Linked DNA regions of Homo sapiens: all the other regions are linked to region 1. The links are contacts of gene promoters, found by promoter capture Hi-C in blood cells and fetal thymus (Javierre and others, 2016). All regions are on one chromosome and are shown on one strand. Each heading gives the region's core, a stretch centred on a gene start or on the middle of the fragment in contact. The rest is flanking DNA. Distances are from core to core; before and after follow the strand shown.

The links. Contacts are between HindIII fragments. The CHiCAGO score rates a contact against its expected background, and 5 or more counts as called.
Region 2: a contact is called between a fragment that was not itself captured here and the fragment with the promoter of RESP18 in region 1, in 4 of 17 cell types (M2 macrophages, erythroblasts, total CD8 T cells and 1 more). The highest score is 8.5, in M2 macrophages.
Region 3: a fragment that was not itself captured here is called in contact with the fragment with the promoter of RESP18 in region 1 in 4 of 17 cell types (M2 macrophages, M1 macrophages, megakaryocytes and 1 more); the score reaches 9.5 in M2 macrophages.
Region 4: a fragment that was not itself captured here is called in contact with the fragment with the promoter of RESP18 in region 1 in 7 of 17 cell types (M2 macrophages, M0 macrophages, erythroblasts and 4 more); the score reaches 10.6 in M2 macrophages.
Region 5: a contact is called between a fragment that was not itself captured here and the fragment with the promoter of RESP18 in region 1, in 2 of 17 cell types (M2 macrophages and M1 macrophages). The highest score is 7.3, in M2 macrophages.
Region 6: the fragment with the promoter of PRKAG3 here is called in contact with the fragment with the promoter of RESP18 in region 1 in 8 of 17 cell types (naive B cells, activated CD4 T cells, total B cells and 5 more); the score reaches 11.2 in naive B cells.
Region 7: a contact is called between the fragment with the promoter of CFAP65-AS1 here and the fragment with the promoter of RESP18 in region 1, in 6 of 17 cell types (M2 macrophages, M1 macrophages, megakaryocytes and 3 more). The highest score is 10.9, in M2 macrophages.

What each region holds. Positions count from the first base shown.
Region 1 is chr2:219,331,123-219,333,999 of GRCh38, forward strand. RESP18 (regulated endocrine specific protein 18) reads right to left here and starts at 1,622. Exons shown (of 6, transcript NM_001441699.1): 1 at 1,402-1,622. The coding sequence starts at 1,507. The HindIII fragment of the contact is 5,862 bases long and covers 1-2,496 here.
Region 2 is chr2:218,919,982-218,923,022 of GRCh38, forward strand. LINC01494 (long intergenic non-protein coding RNA 1494) reads right to left here. Exons shown (of 5, transcript NR_110238.1): 3 at 1,709-1,779. It overlaps LOC124906119 (a long non-coding RNA gene), which reads left to right. Exons shown (of 2, transcript XR_007088090.1): 2 at 580-743. Among named protein-coding and RNA genes, the nearest start is that of LINC01494, 9.1 kb to the right of the region's middle. The HindIII fragment of the contact is 1,408 bases long and covers 674-2,081 here.
Region 3 is chr2:218,873,980-218,877,313 of GRCh38, forward strand. WNT6 (Wnt family member 6) reads left to right here. Exons shown (of 4, transcript NM_006522.4): 4 at 1-254. It also overlaps a transcript of WNT10A not described here. Among named protein-coding and RNA genes, the nearest start is that of WNT10A, 5.2 kb to the right of the region's middle. The HindIII fragment of the contact is 2,337 bases long and covers 622-2,958 here.
Region 4 is chr2:218,952,687-218,955,586 of GRCh38, forward strand. It overlaps the pseudogene KRT8P30. Among named protein-coding and RNA genes, the nearest start is that of CDK5R2, 5.5 kb to the right of the region's middle. The HindIII fragment of the contact is 2,281 bases long and covers 312-2,592 here.
Region 5 is chr2:218,935,763-218,938,743 of GRCh38, forward strand. The region is part of intron 1 of LOC124907984 (a long non-coding RNA gene); the gene reads left to right. Among named protein-coding and RNA genes, the nearest start is that of LINC01494, 6.6 kb to the left of the region's middle. The HindIII fragment of the contact is 5,628 bases long and covers 1-2,981 here.
Region 6 is chr2:218,830,467-218,833,497 of GRCh38, forward strand. PRKAG3 (protein kinase AMP-activated non-catalytic subunit gamma 3) reads right to left here and starts at 1,337. Exons shown (of 14, transcript NM_017431.4): 1 at 1,272-1,337; 2 at 870-909; 3 at 280-435. The coding sequence starts at 1,304. The HindIII fragment of the contact is 3,600 bases long and covers 523-3,031 here.
Region 7 is chr2:219,000,464-219,003,646 of GRCh38, forward strand. It overlaps CFAP65-AS1 (CFAP65 antisense RNA 1), which reads left to right and starts at 1,752. Exons shown (of 3, transcript NR_046086.1): 1 at 1,752-1,837. It overlaps CFAP65 (cilia and flagella associated protein 65), which reads right to left. Exons shown (of 35, transcript NM_194302.4): 34 at 2,672-2,809; 35 at 2,383-2,558. The coding sequence ends at 2,474. It overlaps MIR375 (microRNA 375), which reads right to left and starts at 1,245; the gene lies at 1,182-1,245. RefSeq lists enhancers at 1-81, 1,524-1,818. The HindIII fragment of the contact is 13,795 bases long and covers 1-3,183 here.

The DNA of each region.
Region 1 (2,877 bases), core at 372-2,871:
CAGCCTGTAGAAGTTCAGATGCGCAGAGGCTCAGAAAGCTGAGCACATGGGAATAGTAATCAGGTGGGTAGGTGGGGCATGGGGAAACAGGTGAGCTTCATCTTAGGGAAGTCATTGAAGCCTGGAAGTGTTAGGGAGGAGGCCTGGAATCATTAGAAAAGGTATTGGTTTGTTTAGGGTTTGAGGCTCTGGATCCTTTTCCTGAAGCCCACAGTTTGCCCAACTGTGCATGAGAGGAAGGACAGGGGTTGGGGAAGAGAACCCCTAATGCTATGCACACCTTCCTTCTTCCAGATCAGTGAGATAGGGCTGGAGGACAGTCTGTTTTTTGCTATAGTGTAGTTACCATGAGCCATTCTGGACAGGTCTTTAGAAAAGGGAATTCTCCTACCCAGTCAAATGGATGTCTAATAATTTCCTGGGGGTAAGCGTGACAAAGTTTTAAGTAGAGACATTTGGGGATGAGAAAGCCTCCTTAAGGAAGTAGTGGAACCTCCAACACCCTGAGGAGAAGGGAAAGAGCTTCGGGAAGGGGAGCTGATTCTCTGAGGCAGCGTTCCCAGGACTGGTGGGAAGGAGTGGTGACCCGCTCGGGCTCGGCGTGGACCCGGAGCGCGCCTGGCGCTGTCCGTGGTGCTGAGAGGTGGGGAGGCCAGCGTGGCGGCGGCGCTGGGCGGAATGTGGGCGAGACATCTCCGCAAGGCTTGGCGGTCCTTCCCCACGGCCCTCATCCTCTCATTGCCACCAGGCCTCCTCCCACAGCTGTTCCTGAATCCGCTGCATTGGCCTCTAAAACCAAAAATCAGGGAGAGGGGGCGACAGACTAGGAGTTTGCGCTCTCTTCCCCATGCGCTCTGCGCAGGAGTTCTCGAGTGTGCGCAGTCTGGCACGTGAGTCAGCGCGGGGTCTACGCGGATTGGTGCGGGGGAAGGGGAGAAGGATGGTCCCATTCCCCCTCCATCCTGCTTTCCCTCAGCGGTCCCCTTATTGGAAACCGGATCACAGCACGAGGAAGCCCTGGCTCGTCTCCTGGCCCAGCCTTCTCCCTGGAGCCAAGACCCCGATACCCGCAGCCCTGGTCAACTCTTTTTCTGGCCTTTCTTGCTTCTCCTGTGGCCACATAGGCCAGTTTTACCTCTCTCTGTTCATTTGTCTTTCTGACCTCTTCCCAAATCCCCAATTTTCACCTGAACCCACTTCTCGTGAGTCCAGACCCCATATGCCCAGCCTATCTGAAGCCTATGCCTCTTTCCGCTAGACGCTGTCTACCTTTTTCTCTTCTCACGTCCTTAAGCACATTCTTTTACTTCCAAGTTTCCTAGCCTTGAGGCCCCCTGCAGACCCCCACTTCTCAGGATCGCTTTCTTGGCCCTGCCCGCACCCCCCAGGGTTCCTCCTGACCGTGGGCACTAGTGTCGCTGCAGCCCCCCGGGCAGCTGTTCAGCAGCAGGAAGCAGACAAGCAGCTGGAGCCCCTCGGAGCTCCCAGGCCACAGTGGGTGCTGTATCCTCCCAGGCTCGGCGCGCTCACTCCCCGGCCAAGTCTCAGTGAAGGTAGCGGCCACGGCCGAGGGGCTGAGCGGGGCTGCAGCTTCCCACCAGCCCGCGACTCCGAATCTGTTTAACCCTCCTCGGCAGTTCAGCCAATCGTGAGCGGGCCCTGCCCCTGCGGTCGCCTCCCCAGCTCCTTCCCCTACCGCCTCCCCACCCTCATCTCTTGGAATTCCTGACCCGGCTCCTTTCGGGCATTAGCTGGGTCCCAAGAACCACCGCCTGTACTCCCAGTCCTAAGGCTGCAGAAACGGATGGCACGTAAGATACGGGTGCAAGTTGTACCTACTCAGGTTTGTTGTGAGAATCAAATATGAACAGCGATGAAACAGTAGGCACTCAAGGAATTTAGTTTATTTTATTATCCTTGACACTCTTTACTCTGGCCCACTTAAAACCCTTTAGAAATCATATAGGTTCGATCTGCTATATATATATATATAATATTATATATTATATATTATATATGGCACATCCATCCACTTTACTCCACATCCACTGCCATCGCCTTGGTCCAAACCACTGCACACTGTACTTTTTTTTTTTTTTTTTTTTGAGACAGTCTTGCAATTTCAGATCACCACAACCTCCGCTCGACCTCTACTCAACCTCAGGCTCCAGAGTAGCTGGGACTACAGGTGCACACTACCATGCCCAGCCAATTTTATTTATTTATTTATTTATTTTTGTAGAGACAGGGTTTTGCCATGTTTCCCAGGCTGATCTCAAACTCCTAGGCTCAAGCAATCCTCCCACCTTGGCCCCCCAAAGTGTTGGCATTACTGGCATGAGCCACCATGCCAGGCCTTGGACACTGTACTCTTTTAAATTGAGTTGTTGTAGTAACTAACTAGCTAACTGACCTCTTGCTTTCACTCTTGTGTACTTACAAGCTAGTTTGTGAGCTTTCTAACTCTTAGACTGGCATTTAAATTTTTTTTCATTAAGCTTAAAACATTTATTAAACTGGGCATGGTGGCTCATGCTTGTAATCTCAGCACTTTGGGAGGTCGAGATAGTGGATTACTTAAACCTAAGGGTTTGTATAGTGAACATTTGGGGTTGATACATTACAAAGGATCTGAATTATATTATTATCTTTAAAGGGTAATAGTTTGAGTTTGTTCTGGCAGGCAATTAAATTTTTGGTAAAAAGTCTTGATCCTGTGGCAGTCTGGTTAGGGAAGGAGTACTTCATCCTATTCTCAATTCTAGCCTGTATCTCTTAGTCCTGGGATATGGTGCTTATGGCTAAGGTGTGGTCCTTTTTGGATTTCAACATAACCCAAAGTCATTTACCAAAACTCTCTATTTTACGGGTCCTGAA
Region 2 (3,041 bases), core at 128-2,627, 410 kb before region 1:
ATATTTTCCTAATTATTTCATTTTCATCCTCTATAAATTAGTAGTCACGTGTTTGCTATTATTGTTATTTTATTACCCACATATTATAGCATGCATCCTTGGCTTAATTAGGTCACCCTTGAATTAGTACTTTCACCCTTTTCTAAATAACTCTAGGGACCTTATGACACTTTAATTCATTTTAGCATTCTCCTGGCTTTCATGTTATTGTTGTCATGTATTTTTTTTTTTTTTGAGACAGAGTCTTGCTATGTTGCCCAGGCTGGCCTTCAACTCCTAGGGACAATGGATCTGCCCTCCTCAGCCTCCCGAGTAGCTGAGATTACAGGAATGTGCCACCACACCTGGCTACAGCAAGGCTTTTGACAAAAATGGTTGAAAGAATTCAAAACTGAGGATCCTAGTGCTGAGGGTGGGATATTTTGTGTTATTGGTCAGTAAGAATGTCTCTTACTTGAGATATGAATCCTGAAGGTGGTAAGAGTTGATTTATTTAGACAGAGTTAATTTTAATTAGTGAAAACTGAAGAACTGACTTGTATTTTGGTCTGACGTATGATTGTTTCAACTTTGCTGCAGTAGCACCTACAAGAGGACCAACATTCTCCAGGAAATTCTGTCCTTTAAAACCATGAGATGAATAATCTTGGTCTGGAAGATATTCATAGAAAGAAGCTTAGAATGTTTGATTTTTGAGCATGAATTAACTGTACAGTCATCAATTAAATAAGCTGATCCACTGAGTAATTGTTGAGATGATCCTTCTGGATGCTGAATAATGCTAGCCTAGAATGGGGATTTGACATTGATATATTCTTTCCTATTAACAAATCCAGTTTTCTTTCTTCCTCCCATCCTCCCTCCTTCTTTCTTTCTTCCTTTCTTTTCCTTTCATTTGCCTTCCTTTCCTTCCTTCCCTTCCCTTTCACAATATTTTACTTTAAAAAAATTATGAAATCCATCATGTACACTTCAATGTGTTAAATATATATGTACATTTTAAAGATTAATAGTCCAGTGAACATCTGTGTACCCACTACTCAGGGTGAGAAACAAATATAACGATGGTCTCGTGTGTTCCTTGTGGGCTCTTCCCCAATTCTTCCTTCTCCACAGAGACCACTTCCACCTGCCTTCTGTGGTAGTTATCTTATAATCCTCTTCATAATTTCTTTCTTTTTTTTTTTTTTTGAGATGGAGTCTCGCTCTGTCGCCCAGGCTGGAGTGCAGTGGCATGATCTCAGCTCACTGCAAGCTCTGCCTCCTGGGTTCATGCCATTCTCCTGCCTCAGCCTCCCGAGTAGCTGGGACTACAGGCACCCGCCACCACGCCTGGCTAATATTTGTATTTTTAGTAGAGACTGGGTTTCACCGCATTAGCCAGGATGGTCTCGATCTCCTGACCTCGTGATCCGCCCGCCTTGGCCTCCCAAAGTGCTGGGATTACAGGCGTGAGCCACCGTGCCTGGCCCCTCTTCATAATTTCTAACACCTCTGAATTCTTCTACTGTATATATATATATATATATACACACACACACACACACACACAATTATATATATTTATATATACATTATATATATACATTATAATGTGTATATATATAATGCATATATATAGTAGAAGAATTTACTTTCTATATAGTAAATTTTGTGTATACACACACATACACATACAAAACTGGATCAGTAAGGAATTTACACTTACTTCTTTAGATGAAGACCCCCAGGAGAGGGTAAGATGACAGAGTCTCTGGGTCAGAAGTGACCTCATTTTCCCTGAAAGTTTACAGGGCAAAGTCACAAGTGAGTCTGTTATGTTTGGGGTGTTTGTCCTCTTCAAATCTCATGTTGAAATGTAACCGTCACTGTTAGAGGTGAGACCTGGTGGGAGGTGATTTGATCATGGGGGTGGATCCTTCACAAATGGCTTAGCACCATTTCTTGGTGATGTTCTCTCCCAGTTAGTTCACATGAGAACTGGTTGTTTAAAAGAATCTGAGACCTCCCCCTTCTCTCTTTTGCGCCCTCTCTTCACCATGTGATGTGCTGGCTCCCCTTCACTTTGTGCCATGATTGAAAGCTTCCTGAGGCCTTCACAAGAAGCTGATGCTGGCACCATGCTTCCTGTACAGCCTGCAGAAACGTGAGCCAAATCAAAGCCTGTTTTCTTTATAAATTACCTAGTCTCAGGTATTTCTTTATAGCAGCACAAGAATGGACTAACACAGAGTCTGTGGGAAATAGGACTCAAAAAATTGGTGGCAGGGTGAAGTGTCACCCAAATACTGGCCATCAGGCAGGAATATGGTCAGGGGGAGTAGGCTGCTCTTATTTTCTCACTCAAAGTTCCCACAGCCTACTTTCAGCTCTCGGGAATGGGTGAGAACAAAACATTTTTGTGGGAGTGAAATAAATATCTTTAGATAATCCACGTAGGAGGGTAAGGAGGGAATAACAGGAACTTCATCAACACATGATATATTAATCCATTTTAACTATAAAGAACTACCTGAGACTGAGTAATTTATGAAGAAAAGAGGTTTAATTTCCTCACATTTCCACAGGCTTAACAGGAAGCATGGCTGGTAACTTACAATTGTGGTGGAGGGGTTAGGGGAATCAAGCATGTCTTACCGTGGTGGAGCAGGAAAGAGCGAGAGTGAAGAGGGAAGTGCCACACACTTTTGAACAACCAGATCTTGTGAGAACTCACTCTCACAAGAATAGCAAGCGGGAACTCCACCCCAATGATTCAATCACCTGCCACCAGGCCCCTCCCCCCACATGTGGGGATTACAATTCGAAATGAGATTTGGGTGAGGACAGAGCCAAACCATATCATTCCACCCCTGGCCCCTCCAAAATCTCATGTCATCACATTTCAAAGCCAAGCATGCCTTCCCAACAGTCCCCCAAAGTCTTAACTCATTCCAGCATTAACTCAAAAGTCTAAGTCCAAAGTCTCATCTGAGACAAGGCAAGCCCCTTCCGCCTATGAGCCTGTAAAATAAAAAACAAGTTAGTAACTTCCAAGATAC
Region 3 (3,334 bases), core at 540-3,039, 460 kb before region 1:
GAAATGGTGAGGCGAGGGGCTTGAGAGGAACGCCCACCCACGAAGGCCCAGGGCGCCAGACGGCCCCGAAAAGGCGCTCGGGGAGCGTTTAAAGGACACTGTACAGGCCCTCCCTCCCCTTGGCCTCTAGGAGGAAACAGTTTTTTAGACTGGAAAAAAGCCAGTCTAAAGGCCTCTGGATACTGGGCTCCCCAGAACTGCTGGCCACAGGATGGTGGGTGAGGTTAGTATCAATAAAGATATTTAAACCACCAGGGCTGGACCCACAGTTTTGGGGGAGACTGATCTTCAGGCTGCCAGGCTCCAGAAGAAGGTGGTTTTGCTAGAACTAGCACCTCAGGGGCTATCACCTGGGTCCCTATCTCCCGACCAGGTTGGCCTCTCCTGGAAACTCGCTATCTCCCCTTGGCATTCTTCTTGTTCACTCCTGTCACACATCTAGGTCCTGGATCTGCAAGCTGGAGAAGAACTAGCAATTCCTCTTTAAAGGGACAGGGGCATCAGAAGCTTCTGATGCATACCTCTTGACACCCAACAATATTTCCTTCCTTCTGGTTCCTCTTGGGAAGCTACTGGTGAAAGTGAGGAGACAGAGGGCAGTTCTGGATTCTCCAGAGCTGAAGCTTGAGCTCTCATCTTCCTCCAGAGAGAAAGAGGGATGGCATAGCCCAACTTCCAGGACCCAGAGCCTCCAACTTTCCTCCAGTCCAAATACTGCAATGGGGAATGACTCCCCCATCAAGGTATGGAGGACAAAAAATGAGCTTTGGGGTCAGACACTCTGGGTTTGCAGTTGGTGCTGCTGCTTAGAACTTTACAACAGAGGCCAAATTAGCCTCATTTTCTTTATACAAAGGGATTTCGCTCTGTTTCAGTTATCCATTGCTACATAACAAACAACCCCAAAGTAATCACTTCTCAGGATTTTTGAGGTCATGATTGGTCAGAACTCAGCTTGGTAGGTCTGCTCTATATAGCAGAACCATTGGCTTGGGTTCACATGGCTGCATTCTGCTGGAGTCTCCACTGTGCTGTGCTGGACAGTCCAAGAAGCCCCCACTCACATGTCTAGGGCACAGAGCTTCTCTTGTGCTCTCATTCTCTCCATGTGGCTAACCTGGGCTTCCTCGCTGCATGTTAGCCTTAGGATAGTCAGACTTCTTACATAAGACTGACTTTCTTTTTTTTTTTTTTTTTTTTTTTTTTTTTTTTTTTTTTTTTTTTTTTGAGATGGAGTCTCGCTCTGTTGCCCAGGCTGGAGTGCAGTGACGTGATCTCAGCTCACTGCAAGTTCTGCCTCCTGGGTTCATGCCATTCTCCTGCCTCAGCCTCCCAAGTAGCTGGGACTACAGGCGCCCACCACCACACTTGGATACGTTTTTTTGTATTTTTAGTAGAGATGGGGTTTCACCGTGTTAGCCAAGACGGTCTTGATCTCCTGACCTCGTGATCCGCCTGCCTTGGCCTCCCAAAGTGCTGGGATTACAGGCGTGAGCCACCGCGCCCGGCCAAAACTGACTTTCAAAGGAAAGTGTACCAAACTTGAAGGCAGAAGCTGTAAGTATCTTCTCAAGTCCAGCTTTGGAAGTTACATAGCATCACTGTAACTGTGTATTGGTCAAAACAGTTCACAGAGCCAGGCAAAATTCAAAGGGAGGGAAAATTAATTCCACCTCTCAATGGGAGGAGTGGCAAATAATTTGCAGCCATCATAATCTGTCCCACACCCTCACAGGATTGTTGGGAGAATTTTTTTTTGAGATATGAAAGCCTTTAGCATAGCTTGTGACACATAATTTGTCAAACATATGTTTAGTAAATGATAGTTACTGTGAGAATGGGGACAGACATATGATGCTTTGCAGATATTGGGCAGGCCCTGATTGCAAATGAAGATACCTGACTTTTAGCTGAGGCCAAACAGAAATAATGAATGGCTTTTATACCAGGGAAGTCCAGAGGTTAGTCTGAATTCAGGTACAGCTGAACCCAGGGGCTCACGTGGTGTCACAGGCTTCTTTCTCATCTCCTTCCCTCTCCCTCGCCTCTGCATCTATTGTTTCTGCTTATCTCTGCCTCTCTTGGCATACTGTCCTCATTATCTCCTCCTGCAGACTTTCTCCATGACAGCTCTATATGCAGTCTTAGATCCAAAAGCAGAAGAATGACTTTCCCAGTTGTCTCCAACAGAAGTCCCAAGGAAGACCTTGCTTAGTTCAGCTTGGTCATTTGCCTATTCCTGAACCAATAATGGTGTCTAGGGAGATGTACTACCATGCCTGGGATTGACAGCCTCTCTAGAACCACAGGGGGGTGGGGCAGGCACAGGGAGCAAAGCACAGTCCTTCAAATGAAACAGAAGGAAAGGGAGCTCGTTCTGGATGTGACAGACCCTCACCGTGGCTTCCAGGACCCCTGTCCTTCCCCCGCAATGCCCCTGCATTCACTCGGTGACCTAGCCTGCTTCAATCCTCAAGGCTCATGGTGGGGAGGGGTGTCAGGCTGCAGTGGGAAGGTTGAGGCACCAGGGTTTTCCTTTCTGCCTCCTCTTGGCTCCCTTGGGTCAAATGTCTGGGCCTCAGGGAAGTCATGGAGAATTTGGACTTAGAACTCCTTGACCAAAGGAAACTCTGTTAACTTACCAAAGGAGACAGTGGAAATACATTATGGTCCACATAGAGGAGAAATGAAGCTCCCTGAGGGCAAGGTTTATATTCACAGATCTGCCTTCCCCAAAGCTCTGCTCTTATCTTCAAACAAACAAAAAAACCAAACAAGCCCAAAACCCAAACTCCTGCACTTCTCTCAGAGACCACCAGAGGGCATGCGGAGCCCAGCTTCTCTATTAACAGGGAGCGACAGACAGGACCTGCAGGACATCTGGGAAACTCAGAGAGTGGTGGGCAGGAGAGGATAGGACTGAAAGGAAGCAAGGAGACCTACAGACAGCTTGGGTCAAGCTTCTAGGGTTCCAGACTGTCTGGGACGTCTGGGCTGGCCCAGACCTAGGGCTGGGATGCCAGCCTCCCAGACTCTACCACTGCTGGGTCCTGCAGGGGGTGAGATAGGGTGGAAGATGCTGGACATCTTCCTCCACAATGCCAGGGAGGGAAGCTGGGGAAGTGGCATGAACTGGCACCATTCTAGGCAGGTTAAAAGGAATTCAGAGGAAGTTGTATGGTACAATGAAAAATGCCTTGTTTGCTAGCTTGACCTTGGTCAAGTCAGTTAACCTATCTGAGCACTTCCTATCACCTAATAGGGGTCCCTGATTGCTTTTTAGCACATTGTGAGAATGCACTTCCATCTTTAAACTGCTGGCCACATGTTACTG
Region 4 (2,900 bases), core at 202-2,701, 380 kb before region 1:
TTGGGGCCAGCATGGAACCTGGCCCAGAATTAATATTCAGAGCTTCAGAAAATTAAAGTGGCCTGCAACAGGACCAGAAAAGGGGACCAGTGCCTAATATGCTGTCGGTCTTTATGACCCTAGGAAGCAAATCAAACCACCCCCAGGAACAGTCTGAGTAGCAGTGGGTATGAGCACAGTATCTGAGAGGAAAGCACAGATATAAATTTGGGTTTCAGAAACCAAACAAAAAGAAATGATAGTACCACCCTGGCCCTTTAATGAAAAATGTTCTAATGAGAAAAAAAATGCTAATGGCACGGGTCAGGCAAAGCTTTCCTCCTGCTCTGTAAAAATAATGATGACAGTATAATTTGTTAACAATTAACATTTATGAACACCATGCACATGTGATATACAAGCATTGTTGAGCATTGCATGATTAAATAAAATCTTACAACCTTATGATGATAGTCCATTTTTTTTTTTTTTTTTTGCCAGTTGGTAGAACTAGCTGAAGTTTTATTTTGGGGGGAAAAAACGGAATTGTTTTGTAGCTGGAGATATGGGCAAAGGAGGTGTCCCACGCAGTAAACTCCCCTGCAGGTGGGCTGAGGGCTAGGGCTGAGCCTCAGGTGGGTCTCCCATTCCCTGTGCTCCCCTGCACAGTGGCCTCCCTCCCGGACTCTGGGGCAGCCACAGAAGGGGCAGGCTGGGAGGGGCTGCCACAGCTATTCACTTGGGCAGGACGTCAGAGGACTCGGACACCAGCTTCCCATTTCCCATTGTGGGTCTCGATCTCCCCAACCATGGCCCTGGTGGAGCTGGTGCAGCTGAAGGAGCTGGAGCCGGCGCCAGAGCCAAAGCTGGAGCCCAGGCTGTAGCTGAGGCCAAGGGCTTGTGAGGCCCCCATAGGCTGAGCTCAGACCACCTGCATAGCCACTGGTGGTCTTCTTATGGATACTCACGTTCTGCATCCCAGACTCCAGACGGCTCTCCTCGCCCTCCAGCAGCTTCCTGTAGGTGGCGATCTCGATGTCCAGGGCCAGCTTCTGGTACTCACCCAGCTGCGTGCCATGTCCTGCTTGGCCCGCTGCATGGCGGCCTCCAGCTCAGACAGCTTGGTGTTGGCATCTTTAATGGCCAGCTCCCCCCACTGCTCGGCATCTGCGATGGCGGCCTCCAGGGAAGCCCCCTGGCCTTTGAGGCCCTCAGTCTCAGCCTGGAGCCTGCTGATGTTCTGGTTCATCTCGGAGATCTGTCTTTGCACAACGCAGGTCATCCCCATGCTTCCCAGCCAGCGTCTGCAGCTCCTCATACTTGATCTGGTACGTGCTTTCAGCCTCAGCCCGACTGTGGATGGTGATCTCTTCCTACTGCACCTTGTATGGTCCACTTTTATAGACCTCAGAAGAATTAAGAAACTTGCCCCAAGGGCCCCAGGTCATAAGTGGAGGGGCTGGATTTGAACATAGACCGAATGACCTCAGAACCCACATAGGAGACCCTGCACTGTCTGTCCCTCTTAAGGTGACAAACATTTTTTGTGCGATTTGTGAATGAGTGAGATTTCTTCTTTGCCCCTCCCTCTACTGATAAGGGCATCTGAGAAGGCTGGGCGAGGTGGCTCATGCCTGTAATCCTAACACTTTGAGGCTGAGGTGGGCAGACTGCTTGAGCCCAGGAGTTAGAGACCAGCCTGGGCAGCATGGTGAAACTCCATCTCTACAAAAAGTACAAAAATTAGCCAGGCCTGGTGATGCATGCCTGTGGTCCCAACTACTTGGGAGGCTGAGGTGGGAGGATCCCTTGAGCCCAGGAATGAGTGAAGATCATGCCACTGCACTCTAGCCTGGGCAAAAGAGTGAGACTTTGTCTCAAAAAAAAAAAGATGTGGGGAGAGATCTGGGTCAGTGAGCCCCTTGTTCTGGCCCAAAGGAGGCCTGGACTCCAGGGTTCAGCCGCTTTCAGGAGGCAGCTTCTGAAACTCTAGGGCCCCTGAGTGATTCCTGTAAATCAAGATAAGAAAGGCCTTCATGGTGGTGAATACAGTCTGGGGACTGAGTACCATGCAGGGGTTGCTGGGGGCAGATGAAAGAAGAGGGCCTGGGGGCAGAGAGGAGAGGGCTGTGTTCCACTCTAGGGAGCATCTGAGCTAGAGTTCTCGAAGGCCCTTCTTTCCCCGCAGAGCCTCCAGTGAGGTTTGCACACCTTCCTGGGGCTATGCCTGATAGGCAGAGGAAACCTTCCATCTAGGGCACAAGGGTGGGAAGGCTGGACTCTCAGAGGGTCTGTGTTCATCGATGAAATCAATATAGAGGAGGAAGGGACAGGATAAGGGATATGGAACCAGATGAAGACCCAGTCACAGTGGCAGTTTCTGGCAGCCACCTGCCTGGTTGAGATGGAAACGCTGATTCCAGCTCCAGCCCCCAGACAGGCTAAGAATATCCCAGAAAAGCAACAGCTACCACCCCCACCCTTCTTGATCTGCTCCTACATCTGTAGTGCTATGCTGGGCGCCAGCGGGGCCTGGGAGGAGAAGGAGTGGGGGACGAAAGGGAGGAGGCAAAAAGGGGGCTTGGTGGAGGCAGAAGGTGAACCAAGACTTAAAGCTTCTGGTGAGTGCTGGGAGGACTGGACAGAGAGAGCTGTTCTCAGGGGACAGTAAAGGAGGTGAAGGCAGGAGCCAGGGAGTTGGAGGGAGATCAGGACAGAGGATGGGAAAGGAAGAAATGGCCCCCCTTCCATCAAGGAAAGCAGCAGAGCTTAAGGCAGGGAAAAGGAGTCACCAGCTCACCCCTGTCTTCTCTGTCCCCTTCACCCTGGGCCCTCCAGCATCTCAGCATTGGTCCCTTCTCTCCCCACCCCAGAGCATCACATTCCTCATCTGTGCTCCCAGCCCTATTCACTGTTCAAAA
Region 5 (2,981 bases), core at 349-2,848, 400 kb before region 1:
GGATTTATTCCTGGGTATTTGATTTTTTTGATGCTATATCAGTAATATTTTAAAATTTCAATTCCAATTGTTATTGCTCATATATAGAATAAAATTAATCATTAAAATACTGACCCTTGTATCTAGTGACCTTGCTAAACTCATTTGTTCTTTCTGTCCAGTACTTTTTACTTTCTGCATGCACAGTCATGTAGTCTCTTAATAATGAACAATTTCATTTTCTCCTTCCCGTACTTATACCTTTTATTTCTTTTCAGTTCAGATCCCAGTATAATGTCAAACAGAAGTAATGATAGTGACATTCTTGACTTGGTCCTAATATCAGGGGGATATCTTACAATACCTTATTACTATTATGATGCTTGATGTGGAGGGTGTCCAAGCCTGAGTAGGGGTGGGAAGAGCATCTGCATAGGATGTAGGAGCCTGAATGGGGTGAGGAGGTCATCTCCATGGAAGGGCGATCCAGGACAGGGTGTCAGAGCCCAGAAAGATGGACAAGGACATCTACATGTTAGGTGGTCTTGGGTGGTATGTTGATGCACCAAGAGGGAAAGAAAATGTTCGTATGTGACACAGATGTCAGGCACCAAAGGAGTGAGGAGAGCTTTGACATCAGGGATGACCCAGCAGAGGGTGTCAGAACCCAAGTGGAATTAGAAGAACATTTATAGAAGTTTTGGGAAGGAGGGAATGTGGCAGTGACAGGATATTGGTTAACATGCAAAGGGATTTATATAGTGAGTAAATGGATTGAAGAAAATGGGAACCAGGTTTCTCACTATTGGAGAAAGAAGTTAAAAATATGGGCCAGTCACAGTGGCTCACGTCTTAATCCCCATAATCCCAGCACTTTGGGAAGCTGAGGTAGGATCACTTGAGCCCGGGAGTTCAAGAACAGCCTGGGCAACATGGTGAAACCCCATCTCTACAAAAAATAAAAATAAGCTGGGTGGGATGGCAGATGCCTGTAGTCCCAGCTACCTGGGAGGCTGAGGTGGGAGGATGGCTTGAGTCCAGGATATCAAGGCTGCAGTGAGCCATGTTCATGCTACTGCACTCCAGTTTGGATGACAGAGAGAACCCCTGCTTCAAAAAACAATCCACCCCCTCCACCACCAAAATGGAAAGAGATGAAACTAGAGTGAATGCTGGAGTATTGGATTAGAATTAGAGGTATTAGTGTGAACTTAAAGTTTTCAGTATACATAGATGGATATAGAAGTGTGTGTGTGGAGTATATTTCTTAGGGCTGTCCACTGAGTGGGGCTAGGAAGAGCAACACCCCAATAGCAATGAGCATATCTAGCATCCAGATCTTAGTTTCTAAACACCTTTCTTTCCTAACAGGAACCAGGGCTCCTTAGAGAAATGGTTGGTTCTAGGCCTGAAGGAAGGAAAAATACAAGATAAACCTAGAATACTTTACTGTGCCAGAGAATGAAGAAATGCTGAAAGAATAATATCTATTCTGTCAAAGAGACATAGAAACTAGCTTGAAGGAGCTCCCATTGGCCAAATCTGGGACAATTTGAGCATTGAAATAAGGATAGTAACAGATTATAACACATTAAATAAAATGGGAATCCACGAATCCATTTGATAAAAATAAATAATTCAAAATTTTATGAGTAATTTTACTTAGTTTCAAAGCATCTTGCCAAGGGAAAAAGTGTGACTTTACAGTGGAGAAGCTAGCAGATACCATACCATCTTCATCAAGTGATCAAGGTTAAAATCACCAATGAAGAGACATTAACAGCTAAGCGCAATGTGGGATCCTGGATTGGTTCAAGGAACTGAAAAATAACATTAGTGGGACAATTGGTGAAATTTGAATAGATGTGTAGACTGTTTAGCAGTAATATTTCAAAGTCAGTTTCTTGTTTTGATCATTAATTACATTGTGGTTGGCAGGAAAAAGTCCTTGCAATGCACTGAATGTTTATGTTCCCCCGGCCCCCAAATTCATTTGTTGAAATCCTAACCCCCAAGATGATGATATTAGAAAGTGGGGCCTTTGGGAGGTGAGTAAGGTTACAATGGAAAGATAGCTGTCTGTGAGGAATTGGGCCCTTAGCAGACAAGAAAGCTGCCAGGACCTTGATCTTGGACTTCCCAGCCTCCAGAATTTTGAGAAACAAATTTCTGTTATTTATAAGCCACCCAATTTATGCTAGTTTGTTATAGCAGCTTGAATGAGCTAAGACATTCTTTGTGGTAGGAAATGCATTCTAAAATATTCATGAATAATGAGGCATCATGTTGACAACTTATCCTCAAACAGGTTAAGCAAAAATGTTCTTTATACTGTTTAAAAAAAAAAGGAAAGATATAATTATTCTGGACTTGGGAGAATGTTTATCTGATGTGCTGGTGCATGAAGCAGGGAGGGCTGCATTACTTCCTGGAGGAATGAAGTCTTACCCAGAATGATGCTTTTACTGTAATCTGTGCAGGCTCTAACTGTGAATTCCTTGAGGGTAGGGCCTGTGTTATTTAAAGGTGAAAGAATAGGCTTTGTGGGGCCTGAAGGTTATACATTCAGGAGGGCTCTTCTTAAGAAAGAGATTATAAAATTACGAGTATAATATTAGGCAGTAAAATGATTATTTATTTAGGACAAGAAAAGAAATCATGTCAAATTATAACTTCTATAAAGCTCACAAATATTGCAAACACCACAAAATCCATAAAAAAAAAAACCCTCTTTGATTGGTTAACTGCTTAGCCTATCCCTCTATAATACTTTTTGGGTTTTCATTTTTTTTGAGACAGGATCTTGCTCTTTGGCCCAGCCTGGAGTGCAGTGGTGGGATAACAGATCACTCCAGCCTCGACTTTCTGGGCTAATGCAATCCTCCTATCTGAGCCTCCTGAGAAGCTAGGACTGCAGGTGTGCACCACCATACCTGGATAATTTTTTAATTTTTTTGTAGAGATAGGGCCTCACTATGTTGCTCAGGCTGGACTTCAACTCC
Region 6 (3,031 bases), core at 87-2,586, 500 kb before region 1:
CAGTGGGAAGCCTGGATGCTGTGGCCCTATTTGCAGGTGAGGGGCTGACCTGAGAGTCGCCCCAGGTAGTGGCTCTGTCCCATCTTTCTGAGTTGGCCATGCTGGCCTCTGGCACTGCAGTGCCTTGTTCTCTACTATGTAGGGAGACTGAGGCCACAAGATGAAGGTTGGGTCCAACTCTGTGTTATGGAGGGACCTGAGGTAGAGACCAGACCCAGGCTCCTCTGGGATTTCCCACTCCCCTGGCTCCCACCTCCCCAGAACTGGCCTTGGCCTCACCTTCCCCCTGACCTGGTGGCTCCCCTTCCTCCACCGACTTCTGCCTTGTCCATCTCAAGGCTTTGGCCCTCCGTTTCCCACGGATTCTTTCTGAGCTGCTGGTCACAGCTGGTGATGGCCATGAGCTGCTGTTTTCTTGCTCTAGGAAGCTCATCTCTGGAAGGGGAATGGGGCCTGTTTGGTTAATAGGGAGTAATGCATCAAAATCAATTCAAATGTTATTCATAATCTTTAGGATTTGCAAGCTTCCAATGGGCTTTTCTCCAACATATTTCTCATTTAAAACTTACAGCAGCCTTATAAAGCAGGCATTATTATCATCCCTATTTTGCTAGTGAGGGACCAGAAATTCAGAGAGGTTAAGCAATTTGCTGCAAATCACACAGCAAGTAAGTGGGAAAGTCACTTCTGAAAAGAGGAAATTGGAGGTGAGGGAAACACACCTGGGGAAAGGAGGAAGAACAATGAGGAAGAAAGACCAAAAGGAGGAAGATAAAAGCCAGGCTGGGAGGGAATTGGGGTCCCAGAAAAGTGGGGGACAAGGAGGTGGGGGAAGAGGTTAGGCCCCAGGGAGGGGGCATTCTCCCTACCTTGATGCTCAGAACCCCCAAGGCTGCTCCAGGAAGGGGTCTGTGGGGAGAAGAGTTTCTGAAGGAGTGGGGAAAGTGCCTTACATTCCCAAACCCCTTCTCCCTGAACACACGCCTACACACCCATGCACACCAATACACACGCTCAGACACACGCCATACACAGACATGCAGCCATACACAAACACACACAGAAACACACACATCCAAACACTCCCAGGCACACAGAACCACACACACTCACAATACATATGCCCAAACATGCACATGCCCATATTCACGAGAAAATCCAGACCAAACACACACCAGAAGACACACACGCCCACACACACATTCACAGCCCGTGCGCTCAATCTTCTGGCCTCAGCTGCCCCGGCTCCGGCTCCCCTGGGACCCCCATACCCTGCGCAGTGCGTGCTCCAGCCCGGGCTCCATGTGGCCAGCCCCAGACCAACTGAGAGCAAGTGTGCGACACTGTGGCTGGGCTGCACTATTCTGGGCCCGGCCCCGGGCACCCTGCCCTGCCAGGATCGGTTTCTCTCTGATTGGGTGTCAGGCAATGAGAGGGAGGGGCCCCCATTTGCTCAGCTGCTACAGCCCTGAAGGCTGGGGGTTGCTGGGAGGGAAGGGGCGCACCGGATAATCTGGGTACTTGGTCCTCAGCTGCCTCCTGGGTCACTGAGGACAAGCTAGAGGGACCCTTTTTGAGGGGATGTGGCTTGGAGCATGTGGGAACATGGTCATTGAGCAGAGTTGGGCTCTCAGAGTCCTGAGCCCCTATTCCAAGAGCCTCCCTCATCTTTATCAGGCACCAAAGAAGGGAACATGGAGGCAGATCAGCATAACTTTCTTCCTTGTTCTAATTTCAGTAGAGGGTGGTGCTGGAGTTAGAAAGGGCAAGTTGCAGCCAGCTCAGAGGCTGGAGATGAGGCAAGGGGTTTGTGGGTAGTCCAGGAGAGCAGCTAGTGTATGTCCAGATGTCCAGATTTGAGTCCCTGGAGTGTGTCCCTCTCTCAGGTGAAGGAGATGGAGTGGGTGTTTCAGGCAGGTGAAGAGCTGTGAGAATCACCTCGAAGGCGTGGGGAGCACTCAGAGCTCCCCGCAGGGGAAGAGACATCTGTTTCCACCTGTGGTTGGGAGATATGCCTGGGTGTGCAGGTGTCCCAGCCCCCAACCCTCTGTGAGTGCTGTGCCTACATCCCTGGTGCCAACAGGATCCCAGCCTGGCTCCAGTAGCTGCCACCCTCTTCCTTGGCATTCCCGGAGCCTGAGTCAATGTCCGGATTGGGAATGCTGACCCAGCTGCTCCGGCTTTCCTCTCTCTGCCCCTCCCTTTCTCTCCTCCTTCCAGCCTCTTCCATCCCAGCCCTGGCCCTGGAGTGGACACTCAACAACAGACTGGTGAATTTCTGTCTGAGTTTATTACATGTGTTTTCCATCAACCCTCAATGTTCCTACTCTGCCAATGGGGAGGGTGGAGGAGAATGGAGTTGGGAGGACAGCCTTGGCCAGGGCTGTTCCTGTGGTCCCCAGCCTTTCTCAAGGACATCTGCTCACTGGACAGTGGGAACTGGCTCAGAGGACAGAGATCAGTGTAAGAGAATTTCCTTCACACCAAGCATGTTTTTTCAAATGGACTCAAGATAGCCACCACCAGTTTGAGAGAAAGGAGAGTAGGAAGAACACCAAGTCCAGAGTGTTCAAGCATAAAAATAAGGTCTACATGAGGCCATTGGCTGTGGTTACTCAAACATGGAGCCACTCAGAAGGCTTCTAAGATTGTGAGGGTGTTGTATTGGCAAAGAAACCATAAGCCTGATCAGCAAAGCCTGGTTTGACACCCCTTCCCTTGCCTTATTCCCAGCCCTCCAAATCCGCACCAGCAGGAAGAGGGCTGTGAAGGCTGGAAGGACTGCAGAAAGCACAAGTTTGCCAGTGTGGGACAAAGGATATTGGATAAACAACAGCTTCCCAGCAGGAAAAGCCAGAGGCTACATAGGAGAGTGGAAAGGGGAGATCTTCCCAGAGAGCAGAACCAGGGGTGGTCAAATGTGCTGACCAAGAACTTACTCCACTGCCAGGAAAGGGCTTAGCCATTCCTGCCCAACCAGATTTGATAATTAAGATCCAGCAGCTGCTGGGTGTTTGCCATTCTTTCAGTT
Region 7 (3,183 bases), core at 502-3,001, 330 kb before region 1:
AAGACACAGGGAAGGTGCACCAGGACCATGCCAGGCCCCTGACAGGCAAATCTTTCAGTGCCAGGCAGAGTAAAGGGCTGGCCCAGGACAGAGCCTGGTCAGGGGGGCCAGGAGAGGGCTGCACACACCCTAGCCCAGGACCCAAGGACCTTCCCCTGCCCCTGGGGCTGCTCCACGAAGAGCCCTGCTGTAGTCCACCCTCTCCCTAAACCTGCCTGGGATCTGTCCAACGCCATCTCGCCCCTCCCCCTTCTCTCTCTGTGCCACGGACTCGGGCTCAGCAGATCCTTTGGGGCCTCTGGGTAGTTGGGTGACATAGGGGCACTAGAGCGGGTGGTGGTGGAGGGGACAATCCAGCACCTCTAGGAACATGCAGTTTGGAGGGACTTCTGACCCTGGTTCCCATCTCCCGGGGCTGCCTCTGCCTGAGCTGAGGGCCACCTACCTACCCCACCCCAGCTGATGGAAGCGAGGATGTGGGATTCTGAGGTTTGAGGAAGGTGGTGAACCGCTGTGCCTGGGGGCTTGTCCTTTTCAGTCAGTCTGACTGTCTCAGACGTTTTTAGACTGAAAGAGGGACCAAGGGAGTGTCAGGGAGTGACATCTCAGGATGTCAGCAGCACCACAGAGATCCGAGGAGTGGATTTGAGGCTCCATGGTGGCCCTCAGCTTCCCCCGCCCAGATTTTCCACACCTCAGCCTTGGCTCCAACTCCGTGAGGGCCTGCATCTTCCCCAGCATGACCAGGAGCCCAGGAACCGGGACAGGAGGCTGGGGAGGGCCTAGCCCCTGCGGGAGGCCAGACCAACCGTTCACTGAGCAAATGGGAAAACCAAGAGGCCGGGAAATGACTTGCCCAAGGCCATAGAAGTCGCGGGGACAGAGGCGGACTAGAATCCGGGTTTCCACCTCCAGAAGGGTTTCTGTTCTGGGCCACGGCCCCCTTCGCCACCCGCTGGAGCCGGCTCAGCCCGTATTACGACGCAGAATGGAGCCTGGCAGCCCAGAAGCTGCGGGCAGGGCAAGGCAGGGCGGGTGGGGCCGGATGGGAGCCGGATCTCCCCTGGAGCGGCGCACAGCCTCTCCCACCCGTACGGTTGAGATGGCGGTGGCGGTGGCGGCGGCAGGTGCCTGCGTGGCGATCAGGCCGGCCCCCGGGCTGGTGCTGAGAGGCCGCCCCTGCCTCACGCGAGCCGAACGAACAAAACGCTCAGGTCCGGTTTGTGCGAGGGGCTCGTCGCGGGGCGGGAGCGGAGGGCCCGGGGCCTGGCGGTCGCCCTCGGTGATCTCCTGGTCCTGGTCTTCCGCGAGCTCAGTGCTGCACAGCGCCCCGCTAGCCTCCGCCCTCACCTGAACGCATCTGCGGCTGACACGTCGGCGGCCGCGGCGGCCACCGCAGGTGCGCACCTGGCCCGCCCCTCCTTTCCCAGCCACCCTCCGCCCGGCTTTCCTGGCCCCTCCGCCCGGCCCAGCCTAGCTTGGCTTCGTCCCCAGCCCACGCCTTGGAGCTTGTCCCGGAGCCCGGGCTCCGTGTGCTCTTATACTGCCTGTTCAGTCCCCGCCCCCAGACACACACACTCACACCTGTCCAGGCGCCCGTTTGCTCGGGGCAAATATTGACTCATGGAGGCGGAGCGCTCCCCCCTCCCCCGCCCGGGCTCTGAGACCGGAGCTTCTCCGAGGCCTTGGTGGCGGGGGCGGAGGGGAGGGTGCTGGGGACCCTGGGCGCCTCTGGAACAACACCAGATGTCACTTTTCCACCCACCTGCCTCTGGGAGGGAGGAGCCGAGAAGCAGAGGACAGAAGCTCCCGGGCGGGGGTTAGGAGGAACCGAGAGGTGGGTATCCATCCTCGTCTGAGGACTGATTCACAGTGGGAGTCGCTTAGCAGGGTCTGTGGCCCGAAATCCAGTGGTGACCTCGACCCGCCCCAGCCTAGTTCCTGGCCCTCCGCGGCGTGCCTCAGTTCTTCCTCCCCAGCCTCTTGGGCACTCGGAGCTCGGCAAATGCTAAGGGGCTGGCCCTGGGGGTGCTAAGCCTCCGAGCAGGCGCGGCGCGGAAAGGTGAGGGGTGGCCGCCCTGCCCAGTGGACACCTGCTTCGCTGGCCAGGCCTGGCACTCAGTTACTGTGCACCAAGGTGCGCTGGGGCAAAGGCCAGCCAGGCCCCGTCCGGAGCGCCCTCCACTGGCCAGACCCGGTCCAGCGGCCGGCAGCTAGCGGCCAGGTCTCAGTCCAGCTGCAGTGTGGGCGGAGAGGTGCATCCTCCCGGGCCCTAAGTTCCCGCCGCGCCTCTGCAGTCCGCCCGGGCTGCTCCCTGCCATCCTTCCCTCTCAGAGCTCGCGCGCGCGTTCCCCCTCGTCGGGGAAATAAAGTCAAGGTAGATACAGAAAAAAGACTAGATGCTTTTACTGGCGGTGGAGAGGGGGCCAGGCGTGACCCCTAGCGGCATGTCGGAGAGGCTGGGCGCGGGCATTTACGGAAGGTCGGTAGGAAGTGGCACCACCGGGTGGAGTACCTCTGCTTGCTGCGTCGGCAGCAGCGTGTCCGGGGTCAGACTCCTGGAAGACAAAAAGTCCCAGGTAGGCGTGGGGGCGAGGCTTCGGGCAGAGCCTGGCTGCCCCCGTGGCCCCTCTCGCGCGGTCTGCGCGGCCGCTGGTCCCGGCGCCCTTACCTGGGCACGCAGAACGGCGGCAGGGCGATGACGCGTGGCCGCGAGGTGAGTACCACCTCCCCGCGGCTCGCCTCCACCAGGATGTTCTGGATCATGTTCTCCAGCAGCGCCTCCTGCAGGTTGGCGAAGGCCGGGAGCCTGCGAGGGGGCGGGGGCTAGCATGAGGGCGGCCGCAGTGCCCGCGCGCCTCCTCGCTCGCCTGTCCGTGCGGTACATTGTGCCGCGAGCTCTACGGAGATTCCCATTCGACTCCCCTCATCCACTACACTATGGGGCATTCTTGTTTCAATGTTACGGACGTTCCAAGTGTGGCTAAAAGATTCCAAGTTGCCAAATATGCTGCTGGTTTAAGGGGTGGGATTCAAACCCAGGCGATGTAGTAGGCATCTCAGGGCCAAGTTTAGAGAAAGGTAGGGAAGTGATGAGAGGGCGCAGAAGGGACTGGGTGGGGCCTAGGGAATCCCTACAATGACATAAATCATCTGTAGGGCAGCCCCGGCGGGAAGTCCCAC